Regions from separate parts of the Homo sapiens genome. Here all the other regions are linked to region 2. The links are contacts of gene promoters, found by promoter capture Hi-C in human tissues and cell types (Jung and others, 2019). All regions are on one chromosome and are shown on one strand. The core of a region is centred on a gene start or on the middle of the fragment in contact, and the rest is flanking DNA. Distances in the headings are between cores, read along the strand shown. Region 1 has its middle 42 kb from the start of LINC01907. Region 2 holds the start of SP100 (SP100 nuclear antigen). Region 3 has its middle 98 kb from the start of LINC01907. Region 4 has its middle 80 kb from the start of LINC01907. Region 5 overlaps SP110 (SP110 nuclear body protein). Region 6 has its middle 58 kb from the start of LINC01907. Region 7 overlaps SP110 (SP110 nuclear body protein).

Evidence for each region. The method cuts DNA at HindIII sites, captures the fragments that hold promoters and counts their contacts. A contact is called where the count stands out against the background at its distance.
Region 1: a fragment that was not itself captured here is called in contact with the fragment with the promoter of SP100 in region 2 in 1 of the 25 tissues and cell types used here (ovary).
Region 3: a contact is called between a fragment that was not itself captured here and the fragment with the promoter of SP100 in region 2, in 1 of the 25 tissues and cell types used here (spleen).
Region 4: a contact is called between a fragment that was not itself captured here and the fragment with the promoter of SP100 in region 2, in 1 of the 25 tissues and cell types used here (spleen).
Region 5: a fragment that was not itself captured here is called in contact with the fragment with the promoter of SP100 in region 2 in 3 of the 25 tissues and cell types used here (heart left ventricle, lymphoblastoid cells and spleen).
Region 6: a fragment that was not itself captured here is called in contact with the fragment with the promoter of SP100 in region 2 in 2 of the 25 tissues and cell types used here (IMR-90 fibroblasts and spleen).
Region 7: a fragment that was not itself captured here is called in contact with the fragment with the promoter of SP100 in region 2 in 1 of the 25 tissues and cell types used here (spleen).

The regions. Positions count from the first base shown.
Region 1 is chr2:230,657,451-230,660,192 of GRCh38, reverse strand. No RefSeq gene overlaps it. Among named protein-coding and RNA genes, the nearest start is that of LINC01907, 42 kb to the left of the region's middle. RefSeq lists enhancers at 1-119, 754-1,023, 1,354-1,403, 1,464-1,553 and a cis regulatory region at 441-1,569. The HindIII fragment of the contact is 6,649 bases long and covers 1-2,742 here.
Region 2 is chr2:230,414,745-230,417,639 of GRCh38, reverse strand. SP100 (SP100 nuclear antigen) reads right to left here and starts at 1,439. Exons shown (of 29, transcript NM_001080391.2): 1 at 1,312-1,439; 2 at 1-49. The coding sequence starts at 1,343. RefSeq lists an enhancer at 1,273-1,792. The HindIII fragment of the contact is 8,532 bases long and covers 1-2,895 here.
Region 3 is chr2:230,601,246-230,604,009 of GRCh38, reverse strand. No RefSeq gene overlaps it. Among named protein-coding and RNA genes, the nearest start is that of LINC01907, 98 kb to the left of the region's middle. RefSeq lists a silencer at 1,221-1,300 and an enhancer at 1,441-1,570. The HindIII fragment of the contact is 4,784 bases long and covers 1-2,764 here.
Region 4 is chr2:230,619,205-230,621,904 of GRCh38, reverse strand. No RefSeq gene overlaps it. Among named protein-coding and RNA genes, the nearest start is that of LINC01907, 80 kb to the left of the region's middle. The HindIII fragment of the contact is 3,569 bases long and covers 1-2,700 here.
Region 5 is chr2:230,214,823-230,217,710 of GRCh38, reverse strand. It overlaps SP110 (SP110 nuclear body protein), which reads left to right. Exons shown (of 19, transcript NM_080424.4): 2 at 783-930; 3 at 2,593-2,761. The coding sequence starts at 784. It also overlaps a transcript of SP140 not described here. Among named protein-coding and RNA genes, the nearest start is that of SP110, 3.7 kb to the left of the region's middle. RefSeq lists an enhancer at 939-1,088. The HindIII fragment of the contact is 6,158 bases long and covers 1-2,888 here.
Region 6 is chr2:230,641,333-230,644,032 of GRCh38, reverse strand. No RefSeq gene overlaps it. Among named protein-coding and RNA genes, the nearest start is that of LINC01907, 58 kb to the left of the region's middle. The HindIII fragment of the contact is 3,162 bases long and covers 1-2,700 here.
Region 7 is chr2:230,190,715-230,193,481 of GRCh38, reverse strand. The region is part of intron 10 of SP110 (SP110 nuclear body protein); the gene reads left to right. It also overlaps a transcript of SP140 not described here. Among named protein-coding and RNA genes, the nearest start is that of SP110, 28 kb to the left of the region's middle. The HindIII fragment of the contact is 5,786 bases long and covers 1-2,767 here.

The sequences.
Region 1 (2,742 bases), core at 173-2,672, 240 kb before region 2:
TGCAGAAGTAGAGTAAGTGGGCCAGGCGCGGTGGCTCACGCCTGTAATCCCAGCACTTTGGGAGGCCGAGGAGGGTGGATCACGAGGTCACAAGATCGAGACCAGTCTGACCAACATGGTGAAACCCTGTCTCTGCTAAAAATACAAAAAAATTAGCTGGGCACAGTGGCACGTGCCTGTAATCGCAGCTACTCGGGTGGCTGAGGCAGGAGAATTGCTTGAACCTGGGAAGCGGAGGTTGCAGTGAGCTGAGATCACGCCACTGCACTCCAGCCTGGTGACGGAGCAAGACTCCGTCTCAAAAAAAAAAGAAGTAGAGTAATTGTGCCCAGGAGCCCAATCCATGTCTGTTAGGAGCCTGCTTCCTGCCACCGGTCCCTGGGTGGCACACTGGAAGGTGCTTGGCATAGAACGAGGGCAGTGGTGTGTCAGCAGGCCGGGCACAGAGGCAGATGGACTGGGGGCCTTGTTGAGAAGCCAGAGGCCATGTCGAGGCTGCACAAGGCCGTGACTGCCTGCTTGAGTCTGGGGAAGCTGCAGGGCTCCTGTTCCAGGTGCCCACCAGCCACTGCGCCAGGGGAAATGCCTCTGAGAGCACATCAGGGGCTTCTCAAGCTGCAGCCACAGGGGCTGGGCTTGGCACAGAGTGACGGAGGAGGGGGCTGTTCCTGCAGGTTTTGGTAAGGCGCTGCCTCCTAACCACAGCTGATCCTATGTATGGGCTGATGTCTAGGCTCTTCTTTAGAAAAATTAGCATAACTGTCTTCCCTTCCACCCCTCCGCACCCCACGACCTGCAATCCCTCTGAGCCCTTATCTTCACTTATCAGACACCCAACACTCTTCTTCTCATTTTCTGAATGACTCCACAGTTCTAGAAATTAAAGCCTGCTGTATTCTGAGAAGGTGCTTTCTGTTTCCTCTGGTGAGTGGGCAGCACATACTTTGAGACTCCGCAGGGCAGAATTAGAGGGCCCAGGTACTGAAATTGACTCACTAGGTGGGGGTGGGGAGCACTGAGACCATCTTGAGTGCTTGGAGAAAAGTTGGACAGTCAGGTGGCACAGGGGCAACCGTGGGGTCTGGAAGGGGAGCACCGGGGGATGACTGAGGGGATGGAGGAGAGTGGTAGAGGAGAGACTGGAAACCAGGGAGGGCATGGGCAGCCCTGGGAAGACTGCAGAGGTTGAAGATGTGGAGGACACACCAGGCTGGGCGGAGCGGTGCTTAGCAGGCACTAGTGAGGCAGGTTATCAAAGCAGGGACTATCCCAGGGATGTGGTCACCATGATTGTGGTCGAGGGGCCTGAAGGCATAGCTGAGCCTGCCTGGGCTCAGGCAGAGTGAAGATACAGGCCCTGCCTGCTCCTGCTCCTGCTCCTGCTCTAGAGACTGTTCCAGGGATCACCAGAGGCCTGGCAGGAAGCTGGTGGCTCATGTGCAGGTCAGGCAGGGCCAGAGGCAGGCGGATGGGGCACTTTCTTTGGGAAGAGCTTGAAGAGGGCATTGCTGATGCCTCCACCCCAGGCTGTGATGAGCACTGTACCCAGTGGGGGGCTGGTGGCTGGAGGAGGGAGTATGTCCAGGAAAGGATTTCTGCAGGGCATCTAGCCATCCTGTCACTGCAGGGCTGTGATGGAAACCTGTGGACACATGACCACTGAGGGGACTGCTGCACCAGTTTATTTGTTTATTTTATTTACTTATTTTTATTGTTTTTGAGACAGAGTCTCGCTCTGTCGCCCAGGCTGGAGTGCAGTGGTGTGATCTCAGCTTACTGCAACCTCCGCCTCCTGGGTTAAAGCAATTCTCCTGCCTCAGCCTCCCGAGTAACTGGGACTATAGGTGCATGTTGCCACACCTGGCTAATTTTTTGTATTTTAGTAGAGACGGGGTTTCACCATGTTGCCCAGGCTGGTCTCGAACCCCTGAGCTCAGGCAATCGGCCTGCCTCGGTGCCTCAAAGTGCTAGGATTACAAGCTTGAGACATTGTGCCCGGCCTGTTGCCCCAGTTTAGGACTCAGACAGAGGCTACTGTTCCTCCAGGGACCAGGGGAGCCCCATACCACTGAAGGGCTGGTTTCTTCCCTTCATGAAGCTTTTCCTTCCGGCCACCCACGGGGACCCTGACATGTGCAGGGCACCTCAGGAGAGAAAGGCAGAGCTCCGTCTTCAACTCAACACAGAAGAAAAACCCGCATTTTTCAAAGCAGCGAAGACTCAGATGGGAGCATCAGGAGGAGAGGCCATCCTGGTGGTCTGGGGCTGTGGAGCCAGGCTCTGAGGACTCAGTGGGCCACTGACTTGGGGTGAGGAGAGCAAGGGCTAGCCAGGCAGAGCCACAATAAAAATGATGACAGCTAATGGTAATTAGGGGTTGAAATTTGTACCTCCTTCGCTATGAGCATAAAGTGAGATGCTCCGAGACAGTGCGCAGGCCTGGCACCTGAGCGCACCTGCAGTTGTAGCTGTGATTATTACTACTCAGGCAGCCACAGCAAACTGAGCACTGTGCCCTGTACCCTGGGTGCCCTTTCTGACTTTCCCTGCCCCCTCACCGCCCGGTCCTTCAGCGCTGGGACCCTGTGTGACAGCGCGGCAGCCCTACACCTGTGTGGCTTGTCATGGATTCTGCCACACCACACAGTGGATTAGGATGCCTTGTTCCTTCACGTTAGCTGTGCCGTTTCTACCAGGAGACAATTAGCGAAGTAAGTGCTGTTCTGTGGTACCAGGAGAGGG
Region 2 (2,895 bases), core at 190-2,689:
AAGATGGTTCATCTCATTTGCTACTGGTGAAATACATTCATTCAGCCTCCTAGAAAGACAATTTGGCAGGACCAAGTAAATAACTGGACCCTTTGCCTCAATAATTACATTTTTAAGGTTTAGAGACAAGATAAATATTTGTTTAGATGTAAAAACCCAAAAAGAAATATATAATCATTGTTATGATAGCTTATTGGTAAATGTGAACAATTTAAAAACAATCTAAATGTCCTTCAATTGGAGAATAAATAATTATCATATATCAATTCTATGGAATAGCATGTATAAAAAGAATGAGGCAGATCTATATGTATTAAGGTTAAAAGATCTCTAAGTTTTCCACTATTAAAATAAGTAAAAATGCAAAATGCAGACTAGCACATGTAATATAATTTATTATAAATCAAGAACATAAATTACGTATTTACAAAAAATGCATTAGATATATAAATGCATAGAAAAATATAAGAAAAGCTGTGCCCAAGACTCTTCACAGGACTGGGAAGAGAAGCTACAAGAATGGCTGAGTGGCAAAGATGACTTTTTCCTTAATATACTTCTCCACTGTTTTAAATTTTATGAACAATAATGTACAGTGTATTTCTTTTGTATTAAAAAATTTAAAAGATTAAGTAATGTTATTTCTCAACTCACTACTAGAGAAAAGTTAGGATTTCCTTCTCTTTTCTGGTCAGAGGTATCCCCCATCTTGGGACAGGAAATTGAGGTAAAAATGAAAATATTTAGCCGTTTGTCACCCTGGGCCTTTTTCTTCCCTTTCCTTCTTTTGATCAAGGTTGATGGAATAAGAACTCAGACCCTGAGCCAGTCATGGGAACAGCCGGCAGAGGCCCCTTGCCAGGACAGGTGAGACCACAGCGTCTGATGTTTAAAAGTAAGCCAGGTGTTTACCCTGGAGTGTTTATTTTCTAAAGCACCTTTTTTGACATGACATATTTGAAGGTAGAGGAAGGCTGAGGGGTGAAAGGGTTCACAGATCATGAGGAAATAGTTAATCCCAGCCACCAACAACTGCTATGTTTAGAGTGTCCCGGTCAGCTGAGCAGTAAATCCAAAACAAGAAAGTCACGTGTGTTATGGCAAGTTGAACTCACACCAACAGCTGTCCTGCTCCTGTTTAAAAAATCTGATTTCCTCATTACTTGTCTTTCATTTCATTATATAACATCGCATACCTATGTTCTTGCAAAGAAGGATTAAAGTGAAGCCTTAGGCACAAACTGAACTAAAGGCATGAAAGCTGCAATATAGCCAGAGATAAAGGTTAAAGGAAGGGAGATAAAGACTCACCTGGTGCTCAGGTCGCCGCCCCCACCTGCCATCTTCCCACCCTAGGCCCTGCGTGGGCCTCAGAGCCTGGCCTCTGAGCCCCTCAGTCGGCCCAGCCTGCGTGCAGTGTGGCTGCCCAGGCCCCAAGCAGGAAGTCGGCCGACAGACTGACTCAGAAAGGGCTCCGCCCAAATGGGGAAAAGAGAAGTGAAAGTATTTAACCTCCTTCTGGGCTACGGACACTGTGTTTCTCCTCCTTTTTCACTCCAAGGGATTCTCAGCTTTTCTGAAATGTGGCAGAGGGTTGGAGGAGAGGCCTGACAAGCAGCAAGACCTGCAGGACCAGGGAAGGAGGGCCCAGGGGACGAGCAGGGCCAGCTCCCGGGTGTCCACTTGTTTGTGCAATACACAGCCAAAAAAAATGTCCTTGAAACAAAATTGTCCTTAGCTGCTCTGCCCTCTAAGAGGGGGCATAGTTTACATGGGAGTTGGGGGGGAAACTCCATGTTTGCCCCTTCCCCTTGCTGACATGGCTTGGGGTGGGAGTTGGAGGGTTGGAGGGAAAGCCAGAAACCTCAAATCTTCTCTCAGGCCCATGGGAGAGCATGGACTGGACTAAGGTAGGTCCTGACATTGGGACCCAGGGCTGGAGAGAACCAAAATGCTCAGCATTATAACCTGGGGAGAGTGTGCTTAGCCTTCCTGGAAATCAGCCAGAAGTAAGAGAGAACTCTCCACACCCCTGGGACCAGAGGCTGGAGCCAGCATGGTAAGAAAGGCAAACATTTTAAGGGGCAAGGGTTTAAGGAATCTTGACTATGGGGCCGCCTTGGAACAGCCAGGGGTGAAGAGACACCTAAGCTTCGGAGAAGTCACTGGAATCTTGAGAGAACAAAAGCTTCTCATTGGAGGAGGATGGAGGTTGGAACCCAGATGATCTAGACATGGAAGGGCAGGGTGGCTCCCGCGGGAGGTTCTATCTCTGCCCAGATTTTCCATTTAGATTCTGATTCATCATTCCTCAGAGAACAAGAAGCGACCGAGAAGACTCGCTTTACATCAGTATAAAGTCATAGGTAAAGAAACAGAAGCAAAGGGCGCATGAGAATGGGGCCACAGGACACAACCAGGGACCAGAACTCCAGGCCGGACCATGGGGCAGAGACAGGGAGGCAGCTGGGAGCCTGGGGGCGCTGGAATCCAGGGCCCAAGGTGAGCAGAGGGTGGAAGCTGGTGAGGATTCAGGGGCCAGAGGGGATGGCACTTCAGAACGGTGTTTTCCAAATGGCATTCTACTGAATCCAACTTCTTCCAGCTGTGAATAAGGATGCTTGTCCAGGTACATTTGAAAATGTGGGGGAAGGGGCTTTCTACCCTCACTCTACTTCTGCTCTTCTTTTCCCCATGAGTGAATGACCAGGCACCAGGACATTGGTGAGGACAGCTTTGCCGGTGGGCGAAGGTCACTGTTTCTATCAGGCACTGCACACCTGTAGGTCTCTCTCTCTTTCTCTCACCTGTAGGTCTCTCTCTCTTTCTCTCATTCTTCCTACCCCCCATGACTCCCCGACTTTATGGGGCTGAAGGGCTGGTAAGCTGAGCCTC
Region 3 (2,764 bases), core at 176-2,675, 190 kb before region 2:
CACTGTGAGGGAAAACCCACCTACTCAAGCCTTAGTAATGGTGGACGCCCCTCCTCCCACCAAGCTCAAGTGTCCCAGGTCAACTTCAGATGGCTGTGCTGCCAGCAAGAATTTCAAGCCAGTCAATCTTAGCTTGCTGGCCTCCATGGGGGTGGGATCTGCTGAGCTAGACCACTTGGCTCCCTGGCTTCAGCCCCCTTTCCAGAGGAGTGAATGGTTCTGTCTCACTGGCATTCCAGGCGCCACTGGGTTATGGAAAGACAAACTCCTGCAGCTAGCTCGGTGTCTGCCCAAATGGCTGCTCAGTTTTGTGCTTGAAACCCAGGGCCCTTGTGGTGTAGGCACCTGAGGGAATCTCCTGGTCTGCAGGTTGCAAAGACCATGGGAAAAGTGTAGTATCTGGGCTGGAGTGCACTGTTTCTCATGGCACAGTCCCTCATGTCTTCCCTTGGCTAGGGGAGGGAGTTTCCTGACCTCTTGGGTGTTGAAGTGACACCCCACCCTGCTTTGGCTCACCCTCTGTGGGCTGCACCCACTGTCTAACCAGTCCCAATGAGATGAGCCAGGTACCTCAGTTGGAAATGCAGAAATTACCTGCCTTCCATGTTGATCTTGCTGGGAGCTGCAGACTGGAACTGTTCCTATTTGGCCATTTTGCCAGCCACCCCCACCTAATCCCTATTTTTAATTTTTTGAGGAAACTTCACACTGTTTTACGGAATGGCAGCACCAATTTACATTCCTACCAACAACATATATGTGTTTTCTCTACATCCTTGCCAAGACCTGTTACCTTTTCACCTTTTGATGCTAGCCATCTAACAGGTGTGAGATGGTATCTCACTGTGGTTTTGATTTTCATTTCCCCGAAACTCCCTGGGAGGGGATTGGGGATCTGTCTTTAGGCAGACAGGGGGAGTTCAGGGAAAACGTCTCTCTGCCTTTGGTCTTTCTCAAGTGTCTTCAGCTCAAAGTGATCGGCACACCAAAGCAGCATATTTTGGGGTGGCATTTCCTGAGCTCTTTCAACGGGCTCAGGGCAGTGGCTTTTCCCTAACTGGGTTAAAAGCGTGTTAATGCTTCAGTACTGTGTAGGGCTTTAGTGTAGCACCCTAGCTGGACATCAGCCCCACCAGGTATGGGTGGGGTTCTGGGAAAGGGCCTGGGCTCTCAGGTGGCTGCACTTGTGATAGCAGCTGACTTCCTGTAAGTGCACTGGTGCAGGAAGTGAGCCCTGCTTCCTGTCTGTGTTGCTGGGGGTGGGTGGGGGTGTGGGGGCGGGGAACAGAGGGGAAGCCAGGCCCTTGAACTTGAACTTTTGTCATGCAGGCACTGCAGCTGGGGGTTGGTGGCCTCCTGGAGGGTGCCTGAAAGGGACTCTGGCAGTGCAGCTCCTTCCTCGGGGCAAGAACCCTGAGCTGGGGCAGTGATTTCCCTCCCCTTGATTTCCTCACTTTTGTTTTGTTTTCTCTTTTTTTTTTGAGACGGAGTTTTGCTCTTGTCACCCAGGCTGGAGTGCAGTGGCATGATCTTGGCTCACTGCAACCTCCGCCTCCCGGGTTCAAGTGATTTTCCTGCTTCAGTTGCCCAAGTAGCTGGGATAACAGGTGTGCACCACCACGCCTGGCTAGTTTTTGTATTTTTAGTAGAGATGGGGTTTCACCATGTTGGTCAGGCTGGTCTTGAACTCCTGACCTCAAGTGATCCACTAGCCTTGGCCTCCCAAAGTGCTGGGGTTACAGGTGTGAGCCACTGTGCCTGGCCTCATATTCTCTTAAACCATTAAATTGGACGGGTGCGGTGGCTCACGCCTGTAATCCCAGCACTTTGGGAGGCCGAGTCAGGTGGATCACTTGAGGTCAGGAGTTTGAGACCAGCCTGGCCAACATGGTGAAACCTCCATCTCTCCTAAAATACAAAAATTAGCCGGACATGGTGGCGGGGCCTGTAATCCCAGCTACTGGGAAGGCGGAGGCAGGAGAATCGCTTGAACCCGGGAGGTGGAGGTTGCAGTGAGCCAAGATCATGTCACTGCACTCCAGCCTGGGACACAGAGTGAGACTCGGTCTCAAAAAACAAAAAACAAAAACCCCCAAACCCCCCAAACTATTAAGTTTTGCAGCCAAACCTCATTCGTCCTGGGTGTGGCTGAATCCAGGGAGGAGGGGAAAGCTCCATTATGCGGGCTTCAGGCCCACACCTGTGCCACTGTTTTGCCGTCACCTGAAACCAGCAGAAAAAGCAGCTCAACTGTGGCTCTGAGAAACTTCTGATATTGGTCATGACATTCATTCTCTACAAAATCCCACTCTCAACTAAGCTGAGCCTCCCTGCCCCCGCCAATTTATTTTTCTGTCCCCAGTTATGCTCAGCGCTATTGTCTGTCCCCACGCTCCAGAGAGCAGCATGTGATAGCTTAGTTGGACTAATTAACACGAAGCTCCACATTCAAATAACATGAGTCCTCTCCCATTATCATTATTATTATTATTTATTGTAGCAAAGTATACATAATAGTTATCATTTCATTGTTAATATATATGACTATTTAGCATTATCAATTTCTCATTTAGTCATTTGTAAGTGTGCAATTCAGTGGTATTAAATACATTCACAATACATTCGTGTAAACGTCACCACTATTTCCAAAACTTTTTTGTCATTCCCAATGTAAACTCTCTACCCGTTATACAAATAACACCACATTCCTTCCCCCTCCTCCCATCCCCTGGTGACCTCGATTCTATTCTCTGTTTCTATGAAT
Region 4 (2,700 bases), core at 166-2,665, 200 kb before region 2:
AGAGCTGAGTTCAAGTCCTGGATATCCTTGTTAACTTTCTGTTTCATTGATCTGTCTAATATAGACAGTGGGGTGTTAAAGTCTCCCATTATTATTGTGTGGGAGTCTAAGTCTCTTTGTAGGTCTCTACGGACTTACTTTATGAATCTGGGTGCTCCTGTATTGGGTGCATATATAGTTAGGATACTTAGCTCTTCTTGTTGAATTGATCCCTTTACCATTATGTAGTGGCCTTCTTTGTCTCTTTTGATCTTTGTTTTGGTTATGGTTAAAGTCTGTTTTATCAGAGACTAGGATTGCAAACCCTGCTTTTCTTTTTGCTTTCCATTTGCTTGGTAGATCTTCCACCATCCCTTTATTAGAGCCTATGTGTGTCTCTGCATGTGAGATGGGTCTCCTGAATACAGCACACCGATGGGTCTTGACTCTTTATCCACTTTGCCAGTCTGTGTCTCTTAATTGGGACATTTAGCCCAATTTACATTTAAGGCTAATATTGTTATGTTTGAATTTGATCCTGTCATTATGATGTTAGCTGGTTATTTTGCCCGTTAATTGATGCAGTTTCTTCATAGCGTCGATAGTCTTTACCATTTGTCATGTTTTTGCAGTGGCTGGTACTGGTTGTTGCCTTCCATGTTTAGTGCTTTCTTCAGAAGCTCTTGTAAGGCAGGCCTGGTGGTGACAAAATCTCTCAGCATTTGCTTGTCTGTAAAGGATTTTATTTCTCCTTTGCTTATGAAGCTTAGTTTGGCTGGATATGAGATTCTGGTTTGAAAATTGTTTTTTTTTTTTTTTAAGAATGTTGAATATTGGCCCCCACTGTCTTTTGGCTTGTAGGGTTTCAGCCGAGAGATCCACTCTTAGTCTGATGGGCTTCCCTTTGTGGGTAACCCAGCCTTTCTCTCTGGCTGCCCTTAACTTTTTTTCCTTCATTTCAACCTTGGTGAATCTGACAATTATGTGTCTCGGGGTTGCTCTTCTGGAGGAGTATCTTTGTGGTGTTCTCTGTATTTCCTGAATTTGAATGTTGGCCTGCCTTGCTAGGTTAGGGAAGTTCTCCTGGATAATATCCTGAAGAGTGTTTTTTAACTTGGTTCCCTTCTCCCTGTCACTTTCCAGTACAGTAATCAAATGTATATTTGGTCTTTTCACATAGTCTCATATTTCTTGGAGGCTTTATTCGTTTGTCTTCACTCATTTTTCTCTAATCTTGTCTTCTTGCTTTATTTCATTAATTTGATCTTCAATCACTGATATCCTTTCTTCCATTTGATCGAATCAGCTATTGAAGCTTGTGCATGCATCACGAAGTTCTCGTGCCATGGTTTTCAGCTCCATCAGGTCATTTAAGGTATTCTCTAGTATTTATTCTAGTTAGCCATTCATCTAACCTTTTTTCAAGGTTTTTAGCTTCCTTGCAATGGGTTAGAACACGCTCCTTTAGCTTGGAGAAGTTTGTTATTACTGACCTTCTAAAGCCTACTTCTGTCAACTCTTCAAAATCATTCCCTGTCCAGTTTTGTTCCCTTGCTAGCGAGGAGCTGCGATCCTTTGGAGGAGAAGAGGCGCTCTGTTTTTTGGAATTTTTAGCTTTTTTGCTCTGGTTTCTCCCCATCTTTGTGGTTTTATCTACCTTTGGTCTTTGATGTTGGTGACCTACAGATGGGGTTTTGGTGTGCATGTCCTTTGTGTTGATGTTGATGCTATTTTTTTCATTTGTTAGTTTTCCTTCTAACAATCAGACCCCTCAGCTGCAGGTGTGTTGGAGTTTGCTGGAGGTCCACTCCAGGCCCTGTTTGCCTGGGTATCACCAGCAGAGGCTGCAGAACAGCAAATATTGCTGCCTGATCCTTCCTCTGGAAGCTTTGTCCCAGAGGGGCACCCGCCTGTTTGAGGTGTCTGTTGGCCCCTACTGGGAGGTGTTCCCCAGTCAGGCTACATGGGGGTCAGGGACCTAACTGAGGAGGTAGTCTGTCTGTTCTTGGTGTTCAAATGCCATGCTGTGAGAACCACTGCTTTCTTCAGAGCTGTCACACAGGGACATTTAAGCCTGCAGAAGCTGTCTGCTGCCTTTTGTTCTATTATGCCATGCCCCCGGAGGTGGAATCTATAGAGGCAGTAGGCCTTGCTGAGCTGAGGTGGGCTCCGCCCGGTTCATGTTTCCAGGCCTCTTTGTTTATACTGTGAGCTAGTCAAGCCTCAGCAATGACGGACTCCCCTCCGCTCGTCCAGCTACAGCATCGCAGGTTGATCTCACACTGTTGTGCTAGCAGTGAGCAAGGCTCTGTTGGCATGGGACCCGCTGAGCCAGGCATGGGAGGGTATCTGCTGGTTTGCCAGTTGCTAGGACTGTGGGCATAGTGCAGTATTTGGTCAGAAGTATACCATTTCTCCAGGTACAGTCTGTCATATGGCTTCCCTTGGCTAGGAAGGAGAAATCCCCCAACCCCTTGCACTTCCCAGGTGAGGCGACACCCTGCCCTGCATCAGCTCACCCTCCATGGGCTGTATCCACTGTCCAACCAGTCCCAGTGAGATGAACCAGGTACCTCAGTTGGAAATGCAGACATCAACCGTCTTCTGCATTGATCTCGCTAGGGGCTGCAGACTGGAGCTGTTGCTATTTGGCCATCTTGGAAGTGACCTTCTCTTCTCTTCTCTTCTCTTCTCTTCTCTTCTCTTCTCTTCTCTTCTCTT
Region 5 (2,888 bases), core at 181-2,680, 200 kb after region 2:
ATTTGCTCCCAGCTCTTCCACTCTCTAGTTGTGCAACCCTGGGGCAAGTTATTAAACATTTCTGTGTCTCAGTTCCTCAACAGTATAAACAGGTGCAGTCATAGGAACCACCTCGCAAGGGTTTTATGAAAATCAGATAAGTTACTGCATATGAAACCCTTAGAACAAAGTCTGGCACACAGGAAACACTCCATAAATATTAGCTACTTTTAATACCTTCCTTATGTTTACCTGCAGCGCCTTGGGATTCTGTCATTATATTTTCAGTCACTCTCAGCCTCCATTGTTGCTGGGAATTGTCCTTGTTTCCTATACCCATGAGCCTTTTAGGCAGACATTGCTTTGCAGGCTACTAAGGATGCCTTTGGGACCAGAATGCTTACCTTTAGATCTGCCCATTTAATGCAGAGAGAAGCTTCCCACATTCCTCAAGGTTTTGCTTCTATTTTTTTTTTTTTTTTTTTTGAGATGGAGTCTCACTCTGTCACCCAGGCTGGAGTGCAGTGGCACAATCTTGGCTTACTGCAACCTCCACCTCCCCGGTTCAAGCAATTTTCCCGCCTCAGCCTCCCAAGTAGCTGGGACTACAGGCGTGCGCCACCACACCCAGCTAATTTTTGTATTTTTAGTAGAGACAGAGTTTCACCATGTTGGCCAGGATGGTCTCAATCTCTTGACCTCAGGTGATCCACCCACCTCGGCCTCCCAAAGTGCCGGGATTACAGGCATGAGCCACCGCGCCCAGCCTTTGCTTCTATTTTTTATCATGCCTCTTTCCATAGGATGTTCACCATGACAAGAGCCATGGAAGAGGCTCTTTTTCAGCACTTCATGCACCAGAAGCTGGGGATCGCCTATGCCATACACAAGCCATTTCCCTTCTTTGAAGGCCTCCTAGACAACTCCATCATCACTAAGAGAATGTACATGGTGAGTCATGTTGAACCCTTCCATGGCAGCCCAGCCCCCACCAATATGCCTGATTATTAAAGTCTCAAACCACAAACCACCAGGGCTTCCAGAGTTTGGAAGGCCCAGCCCAGGCATGTTCATTATCACAGAAGGTGGGGGTAGTTAGGAGAGAGGGTGTCATAGGGGCTATGTTGGTTTCTAGGGTGTCATAAGGACTGCTGTAACAATGACTACAAACCAGGTAGCTTAAAACAACAGAAATATATTCTCTCAGGTGTGGAGGCCAGAAGTCCAAAATCAAGGTGTTGACAGGGTTGGTTCCTTCTAGAGGCCCTGAGGAGAATCCGATAGCTGCCTATCTCCTAGCTTCTGGTAGCTGTTGGAAATCCTTAGTGTTCCTTGCCTTGTAGATGCATCACTCTGATATGTTTTCATCTCTACATCACCTCTCTTTTGAGTCTTCTACCTAATCTTCTGAGGACACTTGGATTTAGGGTCACCCTAATCAAAGATGATTTTATCTCAAGATCCTTAACTTAATTACAACTGCAAAGACACTTTTTCCAAATAAGTTCACATTCACAGATTCTAGATGGATATATCTTGGCTGAGATATATCCATCCAACATTCAACTCACTACAGGCATCATCCCAATTTATAACAGCTAATATTGCTCACAGTGCATTCTGATGTGAGACAGGCAGGCACTGGGAGATATGCTATGTGGACAAAAGTGGACCTATTTTTATATAATTTTGGTTTTTAAAAGCATTAATTGAGCCCTAGACTCAAGGAAGTGCCAATAATCTTCCCTTAGTCTTAGTCTGGTTGGCCCCAACTCCCTCTTCAGATCACAGCCCAGAGAGCACTCCTCAGAGACATCTCCTTGGCCAACTCATCTCATGAAGACCCCTTAGTTATTCAGTTCCATAGCAATCTATGCTTTCCCTCCGTAACACTACTCTCAATTGTAAATGGGTATTTATTTGTGTTTATTAATGCTCATCTTCTCCACTTGACAGTGCCTACCCTGACCCCCAAATATAGGCAACTCCATGTTGGTCTTATTCAGTGCTGTGTACCCAAAGACTCGCTGACCGAGCCTAGTAGATGTTCAATAATTATTTGCAATCAGTTCTCTCTTGCCGTATTTCTCCTTTTGTCCATCCTCTAGGCAAGGAAAATTCTCAGGGTGACTTCTCTGTGGCTGGAATCCATTCAGGCTTATCTCAAGTTTGAGAGACACAGAGAGAGACTGAGCAGAGGCTCACAAGCAACCAGCAGAATTGCCTCTGTGACCATCACTAGAACCATTGCTGAAGTATCCTGCCCACAGCTTTAAAGAATCAATTACATAGTAGCATCCTTTAACCCCACTTTCCTTCCTTCAAATTTCTCTCGTCTCAAATGTGCCTGAAAGTTGGATTCAGAATATAGACTTACTTTAAGAAAGCTAAATTATTTATTTTTGTTGCTAGTCATCCAAATATGTGTAAAGTTTCAAAAATAAGCATGTAAAACTGTGACCGCTCTACCTTAGAGAATGTGACTATATATTTTATGTTGAATTTCTTCTTAAAAGAGTAAGGTAGCTTTCTTAAAACTTAGAAAACCATAAATGTATAACTTCCCATTCAATTTTATAGTCATTTATAAAAACCTTCACTCCATTTTTATAGGAATCTCTGGAAGCCTGTAGAAATTTGATCCCTGTATCCAGAGTGGTGCACAACATTCTCACCCAACTGGAGAGGACTTTTAACCTGTCTCTTCTGGTGACATTGTTCAGTCAAATTAACCTGCGTGAATATCCCAATCTGGTGACGATTTACAGAAGCTTCAAACGTGGTAATGAGATTTCTCAAGTGCTTTTTGCATTTAAAAAGTTGCTATGGTAAAAGTCTGGGTTTACTTCTAGCCCTGTGGAATATGCACGTTAATCCCCCGCCTTCTCTCTGGGGTGGAATGGACCATA
Region 6 (2,700 bases), core at 73-2,572, 230 kb before region 2:
AGGAAACTTGATTATGAGTAAAATAATTGAGTGATTGGTTTATTGGATAGACAAGTGACAGGAAACATCCCACCCCCGCTCCCGTGTCCCCTGCCCTCCTGCCCACTCAAACCTGCTGTTTGACATCATCTTGTCTATTTCTGCTGTCTTGGTTTGGGTGTCCCTGGAAACAGACCCTGAGACGTGAACTGGGTATAAATAGTGAGGAAGTAAGATAGGAAAGGGAATGGGCCATTAAAGAGTGAGTTTTCAGACCAGAGGTCACAGCATTATCCCGACTGAGGGGCAGGAAGCTGTGGTACTTACCCAATGACTTCCTGTCCCTCCTTGGTTGAAGACTACTTCCAGGCACTTGACCACTCCAGCACTTCCTGTTTGCCTTGCTCAAGCGTTGAGCACCCTCCCTGGCCAGATAAAAGCTGTTGGGCAGAGGCTCGGGTATTGGCAATACAAGGCCTTCCTGCGTAGGTTGAATGCCCGGGATGTGGGCACAACAGTGCTCACTAGACCTGGTTAAAATCTGGGGATGGCCCACAGTTTTTCCAGGACCTTTTAGTTATAAGAACAGACTCCTTTTAATAATTAAAAAAAGTCTTATCTCTTCTAATATTCAATATTTTATCCTACTAACGCCCTCTACCCTGCTTCAGCTGGGGCCTGTCTTAGTCCAGGAACTGTGGGGAGTGGTCTGATCGCTTTTCTGACTCTCAACCTCTGGTCTCCTTCGCCACCTGTTCTTTTGGTCTCTGCAGGACTAGAGTGGGCAGGGGAAGAGAGGTGAGGGGCAGGAAGGGCTTTGGTTGACCTGCTCTGTTGTAATTTTAAGTGGGAACTCCAGGGAACTGGATGACACCTCCTGCTGCCCAATTGATCACCAATGCAGGGTCCCTGCTTTCTGGTTCATTCCCCTGCTTTACTTGCAGCAAGTTCTCCTGGGCAGAGTCTCTCTCAAGGAGACCTGGCCCAGCTCCTTTCAGCGAGCCCATCTCTGGCCTCTGGGAGATGCACATCCATCCTTGTCCCACCAGGCTCTGGAAGTGCAGGCCCTTTCCACCACCGTCATGTCTCTTCCTGTATTTGCCAAGCAGGGTGAGTTCCAGCCATGGCCTCCAGGCTATAGATTCTTTGGGTGTGGCTTCAGTCCCGAGTCCTTCGTGTCTATCTCTCCAAGGGATTCCTTATTTTTTAATTTTTAAATTTATTTTTATTTTTTGAGATGGAGTCTCGCTCTGTAGCCCAGGCTGGAGTGCAATGGCGTGATCTTGGCTCACTGCAACCTCTACCTCCCGGGTTCAAGTGATTCTCCTGCCTCAGCCTTCCAAGTAGCTGGGATTACAGGCGTGTGCCACCATGCACAGCTGATTTTGTATTTTTAGTAGAGATGGGGTTGCATCATGTTGGTTAGGCTGGTCTCGAACTCCTGACCTCAGGTGATCCACTCGCCTCAGCCTCCTAAAGTGCTGGGATTACAGGCACGAGCCCCTGCAGCCAGCCTCCAGTGGATTCTTTTAAAGCCCCTCACTTGGCTTGAGATGGTACAATCTGCCCTGTGTTGCCAGCTTGTCAGCTGGGAAGCTTTGGGCTGCAAGAATGCCAGATCTCAGTTAAACTGGTTTAACTATAAAGCCTTTGACTGTAAGACATTCAATGTTTCAGGGCAGACTGATCTTGCGGTTTTAAGACATCTCCCATGACCCAGGACCTTTGAGTCTCTCTGCTCTGTTGCCCACCCTGTTGGCTGCATCTGAAGATGGCTGTTGCCAGATGTAATCCAAGCCTTATGCTTTCTGGTTCATGTCTAGTGGCTCACATCCTTCTCGAGGAGCCCTCTGTCCCACTATTCTAAGAGAGAGTGCTGAGAGCCACTCCGATCGGCCCAGTTAAAGATGTGTCCACCTCCAAACCAACGACTTATGGAGGATAAAATAAAAAATGCTGATTGGCTAAGCCATCTCAATGGTTTCCTGTATGCAGAAGGGGTAAACGTACAAACGAAAATTTGGGTATTGTTAGGAAGAGGGGAATGGATGCTGAGTAGACAACTGCATTAGTTTCCTGGGGCTGCCGTAACAAAGTACAGTCATGCATCGCCTAACAACGGATACGTTCTGAGAAATGCATCATGAGATTTCATCATTGTGTGAACATCATAGGTTGTATTTACACTAATCTAGATGGTGTAGCCTACTGCTGGTACCTAGCACACCTAGGCTACATGGTGTAGCCTACTGCTCCCACGCTATGAACCTGGACAGCATGTTACTGTATTGAATACTGCAGGCAATTGTAGCACAATGGTATTTTGTATATCTGTTTTCTTTTGTTTCTTTCTTTTTTTTTTTTTTAGACGGAGTCTCGCTCTGTTGCCCATGCTGTAGGGCAGTGGCGCTACCTCGGCTCACTGCAACCTCCGCCTCCCAGGTTCAAGAGATTCTCCTGCCTCAGTCTCCCGAGTAGCTGGGACTATAGGCATGCACCACCACGCCCAGCTAATTTTTGTGTTTTTAGTAGAGATAGGGTGTCACTGTGTTGGCCAGGATGGTCGTGATCTCTTGACCTCATGATCTGCCCACCTTGGCCTCCCAAAGTGCTGGGATTACAGGGGTGAGCCACCACGCCCGGCCCAATTTTTATTTTTATAGCCTATTTTTACTGTAATTTTCTATGTTTAGATATACAAAATACCACCGGGTGTGGTGG
Region 7 (2,767 bases), core at 105-2,604, 220 kb after region 2:
AATACAAACTCTTGAAAGCATAAAACTCACAAGGTCTATAAAACAATAACACAATGAAGAAAACAACGTATGTAGGTAACAATTAACATGATGACTGAAACAGTACCTCACATCTTGATATTAATGTTCAACATAAATGGGCCTAAATGCTCCACTTAAAAGATACAGATTGGCAGAATGGATACAAAATCACAAACCAAATATCTGCTATCTTCAAGAGACTCACTTAACACACAAGGACCCATATAAATTCAAGGTATAAGGGTGAAAAAAGATATTCCATGCAAATGGAAACCAAAAGTAAACAGGAGTAGCTTTTCTCATATCAGATAAAACAGACTTTAAAGCAACAACAGTAAAAAAAGGCAAAGAAGGTCATTATATAATGATAAAAGGATCAATCTAACAGGAAGATATTACAGTCCTAAATTTAGATGTAGCTAACACTGGAGCTCCCAGATTCATAAGACATTTACTACTAGACCTAAGAAAAGAGATAAGACAACAACACAATAATAGTGGGGAACTTCAGTATTCCACTGTCAGCACCAGAGAGATCATTGAGACAGAAAGTCAAAAAAGAAACAATAGATGTAAACTACACTCTAGAACAAATGGACCTAATAGATATTTACAGAAGATTACATTCTTCTCATCAGCACATGGAACATTCTCCAAGATAGACCATATGATAGCCACAAAACAAGTCTCAATAAATTTTTATAAATTGAAATTATAGTTTGATGGGAATAACATTGAATCTATAAATTACTTTGGGCAGTATGGCCATTTCCAAGATATTGATTCTTCTTATCCATGAAGATGGAATGTTTTTCCATTTGTGTCCTCTCTTATTTCCTTGAGGAGTGGTTTGTAGTTCTCCTTGAAGAGGTCCTTCCCATCCTCTGTTAGCTGTATTCCTAGGTATTTTATTCTCTTTGTAGTGATTGTGAATGGTAGTTCATCATGATTTGGCTCTCTGCTTGCCTATTGTTGGTGTAAAGGCATACTTGTGATTTTTGCACATTGATTTTGTATCCTGAGACTTTGTTGAAGTTGCTTATCAGTTCGAGAAGTTTTTGGGCTGAGATGATGGGGTTTTCTAAGTATATAATCATGTCATCTGCAAACAGAAACAACTTGACTTCCTCTCTTCCTATTTGAATACGCTTTATTTCTTTCTCTTGCCTGATTGTGCTGGCCAGAACTTCTAATACTATGTTGAATAGGAATGGTGAGAGAGGGCATCCTTGTCTTGTACTGGTTTTCAAAGGGAATGCTTCCAGCTTTTGCCCATTTTATATGATATTGGCTGTGGGTTTGTCATAAATAGCTCTTATTATTTTGAGATATGTTCCATCAATACCTAGTTTATTGAGAGTTTTTAACATGAAGGGATGTAGAATTTTATCAAAGGCCTTTTCTGCATCTATCAAGATAATCATGTGGTTTTTGTCTTGGTTCTGTTTATGTGATGGATTATGCTTATTGATTTGTGTATGTTGAACCAACCTTGCATCTCAGAGATGAAACCGACTTGATCATGGTGAATAAGTTTTTTGATGTGCTGCTGGATTTGGCTTGCCATTATTTTATTGAGGATTTTCGTATTGATGTTCATCAGGGATATTGGCCTGAAATTTTCTTTTTTTTTGTTGTGTCTCTTCCCAGTTTTGGTATCAGGATGATGCTGGCTTCATAAAATGAGTTAAGGAGGAGTTCCCTCCTTTTCAATTGTTTGGAATAGTTTCAGAAGTAATGGTACCAGCTCCTCTTTGTATTTCTGGTAGAATCAGCTGTGAATCCATCTGGTCCTGGGTTTTGTGTTGTTGGTAGGCTATTAATTACTGCCTCAATTTCAGAGCTTGTTATTGGTCTATTCAGGGATTCAACTTCTTCCTGGTTTAGTCTTGATAGGGTGTATGTGTCCAGGAATTTATCCATTTCTTCTAGATTTTCTAGTTCATTTGTGTAGAGGTGTTTATAGTATTCTCTGATGGTAGTTTGTATTTCTGTGGGATCAGTGATGATATTCCCCCTTATCATTTTTATTCTGTCTATTTGATTCTTCTCTCTCTTCTTTATTAATATGGCTAGTGATCTATTTTGTTAATTTTTTCAAAAAACCAGCTCCTGGATTCATTGATTTTTTGAGGGTTTTTTGTGTCTCTATCTCCTTCAATTTTTCTCTGATCTTACTTATTTCTTGTCTTCTGCTAGCTTTTGGATTAGCTTGCTCTTGCCTCTCTAGCTCTTTTAATTGTGATGTTAGGGTGTCCATTTGAGATCTTTCTAGCTTCCTGATGTGGGCATTTAGTGCTACAAGTTTTCCTCTTAACACTGCTTTAGCTGTGTCCCAGAGATTCTGGTATATTGTCTCTACATTCTTCACAGAATTAGAAAAAAAAACTATTTTAAATTTCATATGGAATCGAAGAAGATCCCATATAGCTAGGACAATCCTAAGCAAAAAGGATAAAACGGGATGCATCCCACTACCTGACTTTGAACAATACGACAAGGCTACAGTAACCAAAACAGCACGGTACTGGTACCAAAACAGACATATAGACCATGGAGCAGAACAGAGACCTCAGAAATAACACGACACATCTACAACCATCTGTTCTTCAACAAACCTGACAAAAACAAGCAATGGCAAAAGGATTCCCCATTTAATAAATGGTGCCAGGAAAACTGGCTATCCATATGCAGAAAACTGAAACTGGACCCCTTCCTCACATCTTATACAAAAAATAACTGAAGA